Regions from separate parts of the Homo sapiens genome. Here region 2 is linked to region 1. Evidence: promoter capture Hi-C in 16 types of primary human blood cells and fetal thymus (Javierre and others, 2016). All regions are on one chromosome and are shown on one strand. Each heading gives the region's core, a stretch centred on a gene start or on the middle of the fragment in contact. The rest is flanking DNA. Distances are from core to core; before and after follow the strand shown.

Region 1 (5,359 bases), core at 2,312-4,811:
ATGACCTGTTTAAATTTATTTAACCCAGCATTTAATGACACTTCCCCTTTACCACCATGTATTAATGTCAGTAGGAGATGCAATGGGGAGTGCTACACTATGCCACCCTTGAATATGATGTTGGTGAGTCTGAAAGGGACTTGTTTGCTCAGCTGGACAAGTATTATCCTGCTGAGATAAGGTTAGGATGATGCAGAAGGAAGTAGTTTCATTTGCTTTGGTAGATTTATGCTGCTATTGGAAGGCAGAGGACATACAAATGAAAAAGTTTTAGTAATAAATGAGTATGGGATTGTTTTAATGACCCACCTAAATGTTATTAATCTTATGACAGGGTGAGTTTTTGAAATATTTGATTTCTTCTAGGTAAGGAGTAATGTAAATACACTAAATTAGGAGTCCAGGGTTTCCAACTGGAGAATTGTACTTTTCATGTTAGTTGCTAGGAACTAGGCAATAAAGTTGTTGTGCTTTTATCTGGCAAAAAAGTTTGAGGAAAGACAGGAAAATAATTAAACAGAGTTAGAGTTTAATGCTGAGTAATTAATTTTGTTGCCTGAAGTAGTAAAGATGGATAAAAAGAATTCATTATAATGGAAATCTCAGCCCAGTTTTATGGAAGCACCCTGACTTGAATTTGAAAGAAACAGAAGTATTATTAATAAAACTTACATATAAATAGGAAGTGAAAGATTATTAATGCAACCTATATACACCTCAGTGATACAAGTTTAATCGAAACCATAGACAGTCCTGAGAAAAACAATATGCTAAAATATGAAGTGTTATAAATACATGAAAGAACATTTACATAATTTTCCAAGTCATTATAACAAGAGAAAGGCATTTTCATCCAGCACCAGGTATAGATGCAAAACGTGATTCACTTAAATATTTATTTATAGATAATTACTGAATAAGAACAATTTTGATGAATATTAATTTCTATTTAAATGTTATACCTAATGAATAATTAAGCCAATAATTTAAAAGTAAAATATTCCTTGTTAAAGATATGTCCTGCTAATTAAAAAATTTAAAAGATTACACATAAAAATTATAATGTGGGCCAGATGTGGTGGCTCACGCCTGTAATCCCAGCACTTTGGGAGGCTGAGGTGGGTGGATCACCTGAGGTCAGGAGTCGAAGACCAGCTTGGCCAACATGGTGAAACCCCATCTCACTAAAAATACAAAAATTAGCCGGGCATGGTGGCGGGTGCCTGTAATCCCAGCTACTCAGGAGGCTGAGGCAGGAGAATCACTTGAAACTGGAAGGTGGAGGTTGCAGTGAGCCAAGATGGTGACACTGCACTCCAGCCTGGGCAAAAGAGCGAAACTCCATCTCAAAAAAAAAAAAAAATATAATGTGGAAGTGGAAAGGACATTCATATAAATGTCTATCCAGGATTTTGCCAGCATCACTGTAGCTGGAAACTAAGAAAAATCATAGATCAAAAAATTTCTCGTTTAAAAAAATACAGTTTGAAAGTACAATTTTTTGTTTTTTCATAACAAAGTAATCAAACTTATAACTACTATCTATATTAATGTAAAGGAAACAAATGTAGTGTTATATACACTACACCATTAATATTTACATACATTAATGGAGAAAGTCAAATGTGGAAACACTTCTGAACTTAGAAGTCTGCCAGTTATGAGCTCTATGTACATAGACCCTTCTGTGTCTTTCAGGAAGTGGAAGAATTACGTAAATTGTAATCAGCATGCGAATATTAGATATTTAACTGGAGCAGTCAGTACTACTTCCCCGATCTCTCACTTGCTGAGAGATAATGAATTCTTTATTTCCAGTAAAGGCAAGTTTTGTTCCTTGGAATCGTAATTATTGAGATCCAGTGATGTTCAAGGCCCCATGCTAGAATTATGAATAGGCAGCTCTTTGCTTCCATAAATTTATATCCCAAGAGAAAAGCAAATAACTCTTTGCAAATACAATGATGATAGGAATTGTCATAAGCAAGTTACACATAAGGTACTATGAAGCCTCAGAAATTATAATTATTACTTTCAATTGTAATGACTGGAGAAAGTTTGGCATGCACACTCTGACATGAAGGATAGGTAAGATTTGATTTGCAAAAACAAGGCAAGGGATATTCTAAAGGGAATAAAGATCAAAAGGAATGCTATGGCTCTACTACAGGCACTTTGGGCAAGTCCCTGTAATTACAGTAAAGGGTACTGAAGAAATAAAATTAAATTAATTAAAATAAAATTAGAAATAACGTATAAATAGGAAAAAATAGCTAGTAATAAAGCATAAATTAACAAAACCTTATTTGCAATCTAAAAGATTTTAAATTAAGGGTTAATTTTAATTAGCCAAATGCAAGGGTATTCTACAATGAAACTGCATGTTTTTGAAATTAGAGAACATAACGTATTATACTAAAATACAACTGGCTAGAATTTATGGGTAAAAAAGTCAGAACTACTGTTGCATCAAATTCCCACAAAATGGCTTCTTGAGGTAAAAAAAATACCCACTGTTGCATAAATGCCTTCCATGTGCTAGGAAGTACACCAAATCCTTTGTATGTGTTACTTTTTCCATTTATTCCTTACAATATATGAAATGTATGCAATCTCCCTTTTAGAAAGAAAAAAGCCTAGGTAGATAGTAGGTAACTTGCTAGTAAGTGCAAAAGGTAGGAATATGGGCCAGTATGACCCACAGCTTGGCCTCTTAACTATTGCATTACTGCATCCCAAAGTAATATGGTTTCCAAGGAGTACAGAAACCTTACAGAACCAAAATAAAAGCATGTATTTTTTTTTAAATCAGATTTTGCCCTTTCGTTTTAAATTCAAAGCTCGGGCAATACAAGCCCTCTTTTTTTAAGCAGCACAAACATAAGTTTTCACATGAACTCAATTTAACTGCTAGTTAATGAGTAAAACCTAAACTTTAGTCCAGGTGTTGCCCACACACTCTGCAGTGTCAAAAACTGGAGATGAAAATGCTGTAACATTTACAAACAGGTTGCTCTGAATTTGTTTCCCTACAAATACCTTGTAATTCTGCGTTGCAGCTGGTGGAAGCATTTCTAATGCACATTATGCCACATTCTTTGCCATGTTTTTAGGTAATAGTTGGTCTGACTTTGATTTATTGAAGTACAGAGGCGGACAGCCTCCAGCTTATGAGAAGCGCCCTACAAAGGCACGGATGTTACCGCACTGTGACTCAACTATTGCCTTATAGTTCTAGTTTTGCAAAATTAATATTGAAAAATACAAGCAATGGGCATATGTTCTAATTCCTAGTGCCTGGGCCTCAGAGCCTCCAGCTTAGCCCAGAGCAGTGCGTAGAGGAAGAAGGTATTCCTGGAGTTTAGAAACACGCCGACGCCCCTTCCCAATACAAAAACTACCACCCCACCAAAGGGTCCCAGACAGTTCAGAAAGGTCAGAAGCTACTTCCACCGCTTTCCGTGCCTGTTTCCGCCTCCAATTTCACTTCCGGGGAGGGGACTTCCGGGCCCTCAGCCTTAAGGGGCGGGAGTTAAAGAGGAGTCGGAAGTGGCACCAGCACTTCCGGTACGGAAAACTCGCTGCTGCCCCAACCTGGCTTGACAGGCTTGGTCTCTGCAAGTGGCTCTCAGCCCCTTCTTCTTTCCTGCCTCACCTTCCAATTCGTTTGCCGCCGCCGTCCCGCAGCTGCTGTTTCCGGAGTTGCCCCTTCCCCATGTTCCGGGGCAGGAGTCCGCAAAGCGAAGATCCGCCCGCCGGTTCCTCATCATGTCCGAACTGACTAAAGAGCTGATGGAGCTGGTGTGGGGCACCAAGAGCAGCCCCGGTCTCTCGGACACCATTTTCTGCCGCTGGACGCAAGGTACCCTGGCGGGGCTCTCACACTTGCAGCCGCTGCTTCTTTTGCCCTGCGAGAGTCCGCCTGTGACGCCTCTCGCTCCAGCCCCTCGCGTGCCCCGCTCTCTGCCCCAGTCGCCGTGCTCAGCGCTGAAGCTGGACTTTCTAGACACGCCCTGCCTTGCCTTGGTGGGGAGAGTTTGAGTAGGAGAATGGTTACAGCTGCCACTAAATACCCGCAGCGCTCTTTCCATCCTCCGGGCTGCCCTTCGGCTGGGGAGGAGGAGAGGGTGGCCCCTTGCTGGGTTGCAGGGCGTGACACGGAAGATGCGCCCCGTGCCCCGGTGTCACTTTCTCAAGGGGTGCTGTGGCCTTCCGCATCTTTACCCCCTAACAGAGCTGTCTATTGGTGGTGGTTGGTCTATTTTTGGTGAGAAGGAGGGACGTCCAAGGGAAAGTCCAAGTGGCTAATTCCAAAAAGCAGTTTTTTGTTTGTATTGTCATTATGTGGTTAGGCGTGGTAGTCTGTGTATAAACACTGTTATTTGCTAAAAAGTGTACTCTTGGCCCAAAGTATCCCCGTTTTTTATATGGTTTATTATCTGTCACGGTTAAAAAAGGAATATGGATCATAGTACTTCCTCGGCCGGTATGCTTGTAACCCAGACAGGACTTTTACTTACATGAAGAGTCTTAGTACAAATAATAATGAAATAAAATAAGCATTTATTGAATTCTTGCACTGTAACAGGCTGGGCGCTTTATACTAGTAACTATCCCTAATTCTTAAGTTTGGATAGGCAAACAACTGACACATTCCTAAAGGTGACTTAGGAAAGATGATGATGAGGTTAAAACATAACCTTGAGTCAGAAGGATCAATAATTTATGTATGTAAAACACTATTATTATTAAAACATCTATTTAGGGAACACCTGTTCCCGAAATAGATTGGGCGGAATTTTGGCATAGTAAATATAAACCCCTATTTCAAAACGTGTATTTTGTAACAAAAATTCAGGATTTACGTAATCTCTCCCTCCCTCCCACATGTTTGTTTTAAGAGCTGGTAAAATTACAATTACGATGTATTGTTAAGTTGGGATATTTAGTCCCTCACTGTTGCTTTGCAGGCGAAAAAAATTAGTTGTAAAGGTAAATGACTGGGCCAAAGTTGCACAAATCGATAGAACTGGGAGTGGATTCCAGGTCTCTCGATTCCTAATATACCTCTGTTTTCATTATCTTCCTTTGAGTTCCCAAACCCTACATGTAATGACTTGGGCTCTTTTTTTTCACATTCAATTATGTCAGTTACCTAATCTTGGGCTTCTTAGAGGGAGATTTTATTTTAACACTTCCCACTTTGACTTACTTATTCTAATAGTAAGCAGCTCTAAAATACTGTGAAAGACTAAGAAAAAATTTACTTCCATTGTAATCAGTTAACATTTATTAAACATTTTACAAAGTAGAATAAGATAATATTCAGCCCTGTTTATATTTATACTGTAATGCAAAT
Region 2 (5,741 bases), core at 774-3,273, 2.3 Mb before region 1:
ATTTGTAAACTATTTTTTAAATTGACAAATAGAAACTATATATATAGTATACAATATGATGCTTTTAATAATAATGGTTCTTAAGTAACAAATGAAGCTAAAGTTTTGCTATGTGATATGCAACATGCAACATAATACATCATGCCCATGTACATGTTAAATATATTTGAAAAGAAAGAACAAAAATTAGTCAAAAGGTAAATGAATGTGTGCAATTTTCTAAGCTTTGCAGTACTGCAGGTGTTTACATTACAGATTTAAGTGACACATGATTTCTATATGTTACAAACTTCAATATATTTTGTAACATTCTAGTAATGCTTATTAACTAAGATATATAGTTTCTCCCCCACCCCACCTTATCCATGAGGGATGCCTTCCAAGACCTCTGGTGGATGCCTGAAACCATGGATAGTTCTGATATACTGTTTCTTCCTATACATACACACCTATGATACAGTTTAATTTCTAAGTCAGACACAGTAAGAGATTAACAATAGCTAAAAATAAAATAGAACAATTATTGGCTGGGTGCAGTGGCTCATGCCTGTAATCCCAGCATTTTGGGAGGTCATGCCTGTAATCCCAGCATTTTGGGAGGCAGAGGTAGGCGGATCACCTGAGGTCAAGAGTTCAAGACCAGCTTGGCCAACATGGTGAAACCCTGTCTCTACCAAAACTACAAAAATTAGTCAGGTGTGGTGGCTCACGCCTGTAGTCTGAGCTACTAGGGAGGCTGAGGCAGGAGAATCACTTGAACCCGGGAGGTAGAGGTTGCAGTGAGCTGAGATCATGCCACAGCACTCCAGCCTGGGTGACAGAGTGAGACTCTGTCTCTAAATAAATAAATAGAAGAATTATAACAATATACTGTAATAAATGTTATGTGAATGTCGTCTCTCCCTCAAAATATTTTATTGTACTGTACTCAAGTTGACCTCGATTAACTGAAATCTTGAAAGAAAACCATGGATAATTGGGAACTACTGCACCAATCCCTCCCCAACAGTGGACTTAAAACTTTGGTTGGCTTAATGCTTACACTGGCATGTCTTACTTCACCTTCCAGCGAAAAATGGAGCCCGGCATTACCCTCCCCACTTTGCTTGCTAAGCTGCAGTGCAGAAGGCACCACTACTGCGCCCCCCAGCATGCTTTTTGGAGAGGACTGGAGCACACTGGGACGTTCATGTGAGAATCTGCATGTGCCCCTTTCTGGAATTTGAGGGAAGTACATGGACGCAGCCTGCGTCTTGCTCCTACATTTCCTTAGACATGTCTGAAAGCCAGAGAGTGGCTGGCTGGAGCAGTTGGTCCCATCGGGGAAAAGAAGGAACATGCACAGCATGAGGGGAATGGGAGAGAAAGAAGTGACTGCACAATGCTGCTGTTTCTGTGGCTCCATGTGACACAATACACAGGTGGGAGGATGAGGTGGACATAGTAGGGATGCCCAGGCAATAGCCCGAGCAGTGGATGCCCCATCTGGAGAGAGGAAGTCAGGGAAGAGGACTGCCTTCAGGAGACAAAGGAGATACAGCTATGTGTCTCTAAGAATCCTCATGGATGATGGCCATGCGCAGTGGCTCACGCCTGTAGTCCCCAGCACTTTGGGAAGCTGAGGCGGGTGAATCACCTGAGGTCAGGAGTTTGAGACAAGCCTGGCCAACATAGCGAAACCTTGTCTCTACTAAAAATGCAAAAATTAACTGGGCAGCCATGGTGGTGCATGCCTGTAGTTCCAGCTACTTGGGAGGCTGAGGCATGAGAATCACTTGAACCCGAGAGGTGGAGATTGCAGTGAGCCAAGATTGCACCACTGCACTCTACCCTGGGTGACAGAGCAAGACTCCATCTCAAAACAAACAAACAAAAAAATTCTCATAGATGGAGAGGGCCTGGGGAGACTGAAAACCGTAGATTCTCTCTCCCTGGACCCACCCCACAGAGGTAAGCATCAACAGATGGAACCCTTGCAAATTGGAGCAAGAACAAAGATGCCTTCCTGTCTCTGATGGGTTGTAGAAACTCTTTGCCTCCTTGACTTCTGATCTAAATCACTGGAGGAGTTAGGTTTTGATGAGGAGCAGGGAACATTGAAACACTACCCTCTTCTCTCCACTCCAGTAAGCTGGAATAGAAGAAAGAATTGAAGATCAGGCCAAGGACCCCATCCAATTCTAAGACTCAGAAGTGTGGTTTGGAGGTCATGGAGATCAGATTTCATTCATATTTGTGAATGGAATTTTAAGCTGCATAGAATTTTGTTGTTTAAATCCAAAATGACTGGTACATTAAACAATACACCAAATATTAAGAAAATGTGCTCACCCAGTGGAAAAGAAAGAGCTGTCATGGCACACAGTTAGAGGCATTGAATGGAAATAAAAATAGTAAAATTCACAGATTTTTGACTGTTCAACAAACTAGTCATGCGCATCCTCTATGCATATATAGACAACAATAACAGCTACCATTTACGAGTGCTCGCTGGGCTAATTGCTGCGCTTAGTACTTTATAAATCCCATTCAATTCTCACAATAACTATATGAGTTAGGTATTAGTGTCCCCATTATACGGATGAGAAAACTGAGGCTAGCAAAGGGATGTAACCTTCCCAATAGTGCAGAGGTAGTAAGTTAATGCTCAAGTCTTTCTGATTCAAAGGACCATGCTTCTAACCACTGGACAGATAACTGTCATGTTAATAACATATGTTGAAAGGAAAGTCCAGGAAATTTCTATTCAATGATACAGATCTTAAGAATTTTTTTTTAAAAACCCTCAAAAACAAAAAACACTTGACATCTACAAATGTATAAACATTAGAGAGTTTGGAATATAGAGTCTTGGGCATGAAAGCCAGACCTTTTTTTTTTTTTTTTTCTGGTAAAGTTTAAGGAATCCAGCAAGAAGTGAAGCATTTTACCACTAGTAGGAACTCATTAAATATTTGTGGCATTAAAATGAAATGAAGCCTACTCTTGAAATTGACTCTATACAGAAAGTACAGTATGGAATGCATATGTGATCAGAAGCAATAACATGTATATTCATTTACTCAACAAGTACTTTTGAATGTTTACTGTATTCTAGGCTGTTTGTCTGGATATCACCAAGTTCTGAATGTATAACGGTAAACAAAACAGGTAGTGTACTTGCCCTCGCAGAGCTTAACACATCCAAATCTATCATGCCATAGTTTTGTTATCTCACTAAATCCAGAGGTTAAATGATTTTGTGGCCTAAGGCCACACATAAAATGTCAGAGCAAAAATTACAAAGCAGGAAATTTGAATCCTATGACAGGTTTAACTTTGAAGAAACTAAATTTTAAAAGAAAAACTATCACTTTCAAGAAAGAAAATAAAAGATTCTGCTTTTGTCAATTAGAGCAAGATTTCCTTATCCCACTGATATTTCAAATAGCCTGGTTAACAAAGGCACAATTCACATCTACAAATAATGTTAGGTCCACCTATTCTACTTAGTAACGGGTGTTTAGTGGTGATGTGTCATTTCATGCTAGACTTTGTTGGTTAATGTATAATCAATATGTTTCATTATAAGGTCAGTCATGAAAAGCATAAATGACACTTTATACAAAAGTTTACATGCAGTGGCTGCAAACACACCATAGCAACAGGGAGAGATTGATGAAAAAGGTTTGGTTTCTATAGCAACTATCGTAGGGACCATCTGTAAGCTGAACTGCAGCAACGGAAGCAAAATGAACACTTTAAAAGTCTGCAGTAGGTCTCTTTGTCTATTTAAACATAATGTTAAAATTAAACGTTTTTTCTCCTATAAGGATAAGCTTCCTCTTTTATTTGCCATTTTGCAATCTGATTGCTTTTTTGTTTGAATGAGCCTGTTTTTATTGAAGCTTATAAATCCAACCTTTACAAAAACGACTGTATTTTCCTACTGAAACTTCTATGCACAAATGAACAATCACAAACACAATTGGCAAAAGCAGAGAAACATGGATTGTGAAAAATTTTAGTATATTTCAAAAGACAGACTATAAAATGCTATTATAAGAACTACGGTTCTTTATTTAGTATCTTTTTTTTTATTCCAACAACCTGCTTTTCATAACAGTCACCACTAGCAAAAAGCAGAGGGAAATTACAACACAATTACTTGTTCATTCTTCATTACCATATATGTAATTGTGTTGTTCCCTCTACAGCCTCCGCTAAAATAATCAACGATCACTCGCCCCGTTATGTTTCTCTATGTATATACACACATACATATGTATGTACGTGTGGGTGTTTATTTATTCATGTTTCCCCCTCATTAAGTCATCTTTTTTTGAAGGTACTCATTGATGTAATGTGGAAAAATAGAGCATTTTAATCTTGAATAAAATTGCTACCTTTATAAGGAAAGCTTTTCTGCTCTCACTCACGGTGTGTTACCCAAAGGATACAAAGGACAAGAGAAAGCTGTAAATATCAAACAAGGAAAAGTGACTAATGCCAGCCAAGGTACAAAACCCTTTTTCAGATAGAGGGGTCACTTTTCACAGCATCCATGCTAACCTGCCCGGCTTGTAAAGTTGCCATGCTGCAACCACAGCTTGGCTGGTATTTAACTACTCTGTGATATCATTCGGCTATAATTTCGACTCTCCAAGCATCTGCCTGTGTCTACTTCAAGCTGGCTGACCAGAATACAGATGAAAGAACAAAATTTTCACTAAGAATTGGATCTAGATGCTGTGGCATATTCCTGTGTCTCTTTTGTACCCATGAGGTACTGCAGAATATTGCAGAAACCTGCTTCAGACCCTGTAGTCTGATATTTTCAAAGAGTGAGTGACAGAATCTTAAAGCATCAATCAAGGAAAATGTTCAGTGATGGCTCGCTTAATGGGGACTCTGTTAACAGCTTTCCCAGTGATGAAAATCCAGTCTTGCTTAACAACAGAGATAATAGGAAACTGACTGAATTATACAGTGTCAGTCTGTATGTCAAGAAAGGGAATTTCAGCATAAAAATGTCACAGATTACAAAGTATGTGCTTCCTGAAACAAAGACAGAAAGGCAAAGAACTTGCTATTTCTTGACGTTACTACATTCCAGATGGATCTTACTCCACAGCCACAACACAGAAGAGATAAACATTCCAAAATAGAACCTGAGAATGGTTCTGGAACTATAGACACTGGCTCAACCTTTTCAATTCATGCCATTGGGCGGCCAATGACTGAGAAATTACTCTGTTCCAGGAACTATACTAAATCCTTAAACTATATCATCTCTAATTTGCTTAAGCCCTTATAGATTGTGTATTATTATCCTTGCTTTACAGATGAGAATGTGAAGTTTTTAAAGGAGTTAAAAAAAAACTTGAAGTAAACAGATGAGCTGATACTTACACCGAGGATATTTTTGACCCCAAAATCCCATGGTTTGGTCCCTATAATATATGGTGGCTCATTTGAGAGTTAGAGAAACCAAGGCCCAGAGAAGATCAGTATATGTACTCAATCATAGCCAGAGAAGAAACTAGAAATTCGATCTGTGTAACCGAGGATCCTCATCATCCAAATCACATAAGATAACCTTCACAGTTCTGCTTGACACCACCCAAGGGAAAGTCAATAGGGTTATCTCCAGCAATACTGTGATGGCTTCCAAATTCACCTCTTTTTGTGTGTTGTCAGCCAACTTTTTCACTGACTTCCTTCACCAGAGAAAGTCAATTCCATTTTAAGGGTCCAAAGCA

The links. Contacts are between HindIII fragments. The CHiCAGO score rates a contact against its expected background, and 5 or more counts as called.
Region 2: a fragment that was not itself captured here is called in contact with the fragment with the promoter of MINDY3 in region 1 in 1 of 17 cell types (M2 macrophages); the score reaches 5.1 in M2 macrophages.

What each region holds. Positions count from the first base shown.
Region 1 is chr10:15,858,709-15,864,067 of GRCh38, reverse strand. MINDY3 (MINDY lysine 48 deubiquitinase 3) reads left to right here and starts at 3,561. Exons shown (of 15, transcript NM_024948.4): 1 at 3,561-3,862. The coding sequence starts at 3,769. LOC124902383 (a long non-coding RNA gene) reads right to left here. Exons shown (of 4, transcript XR_007062071.1): 4 at 5,268-5,359. RefSeq lists an enhancer at 3,770-3,819. The HindIII fragment of the contact is 10,196 bases long and covers 1-5,359 here.
Region 2 is chr10:18,202,123-18,207,863 of GRCh38, reverse strand. All of the region lies in intron 2 of CACNB2 (calcium voltage-gated channel auxiliary subunit beta 2), which reads right to left. Among named protein-coding and RNA genes, the nearest start is that of CACNB2-AS2, 57 kb to the left of the region's middle. The HindIII fragment of the contact is 3,594 bases long and covers 227-3,820 here.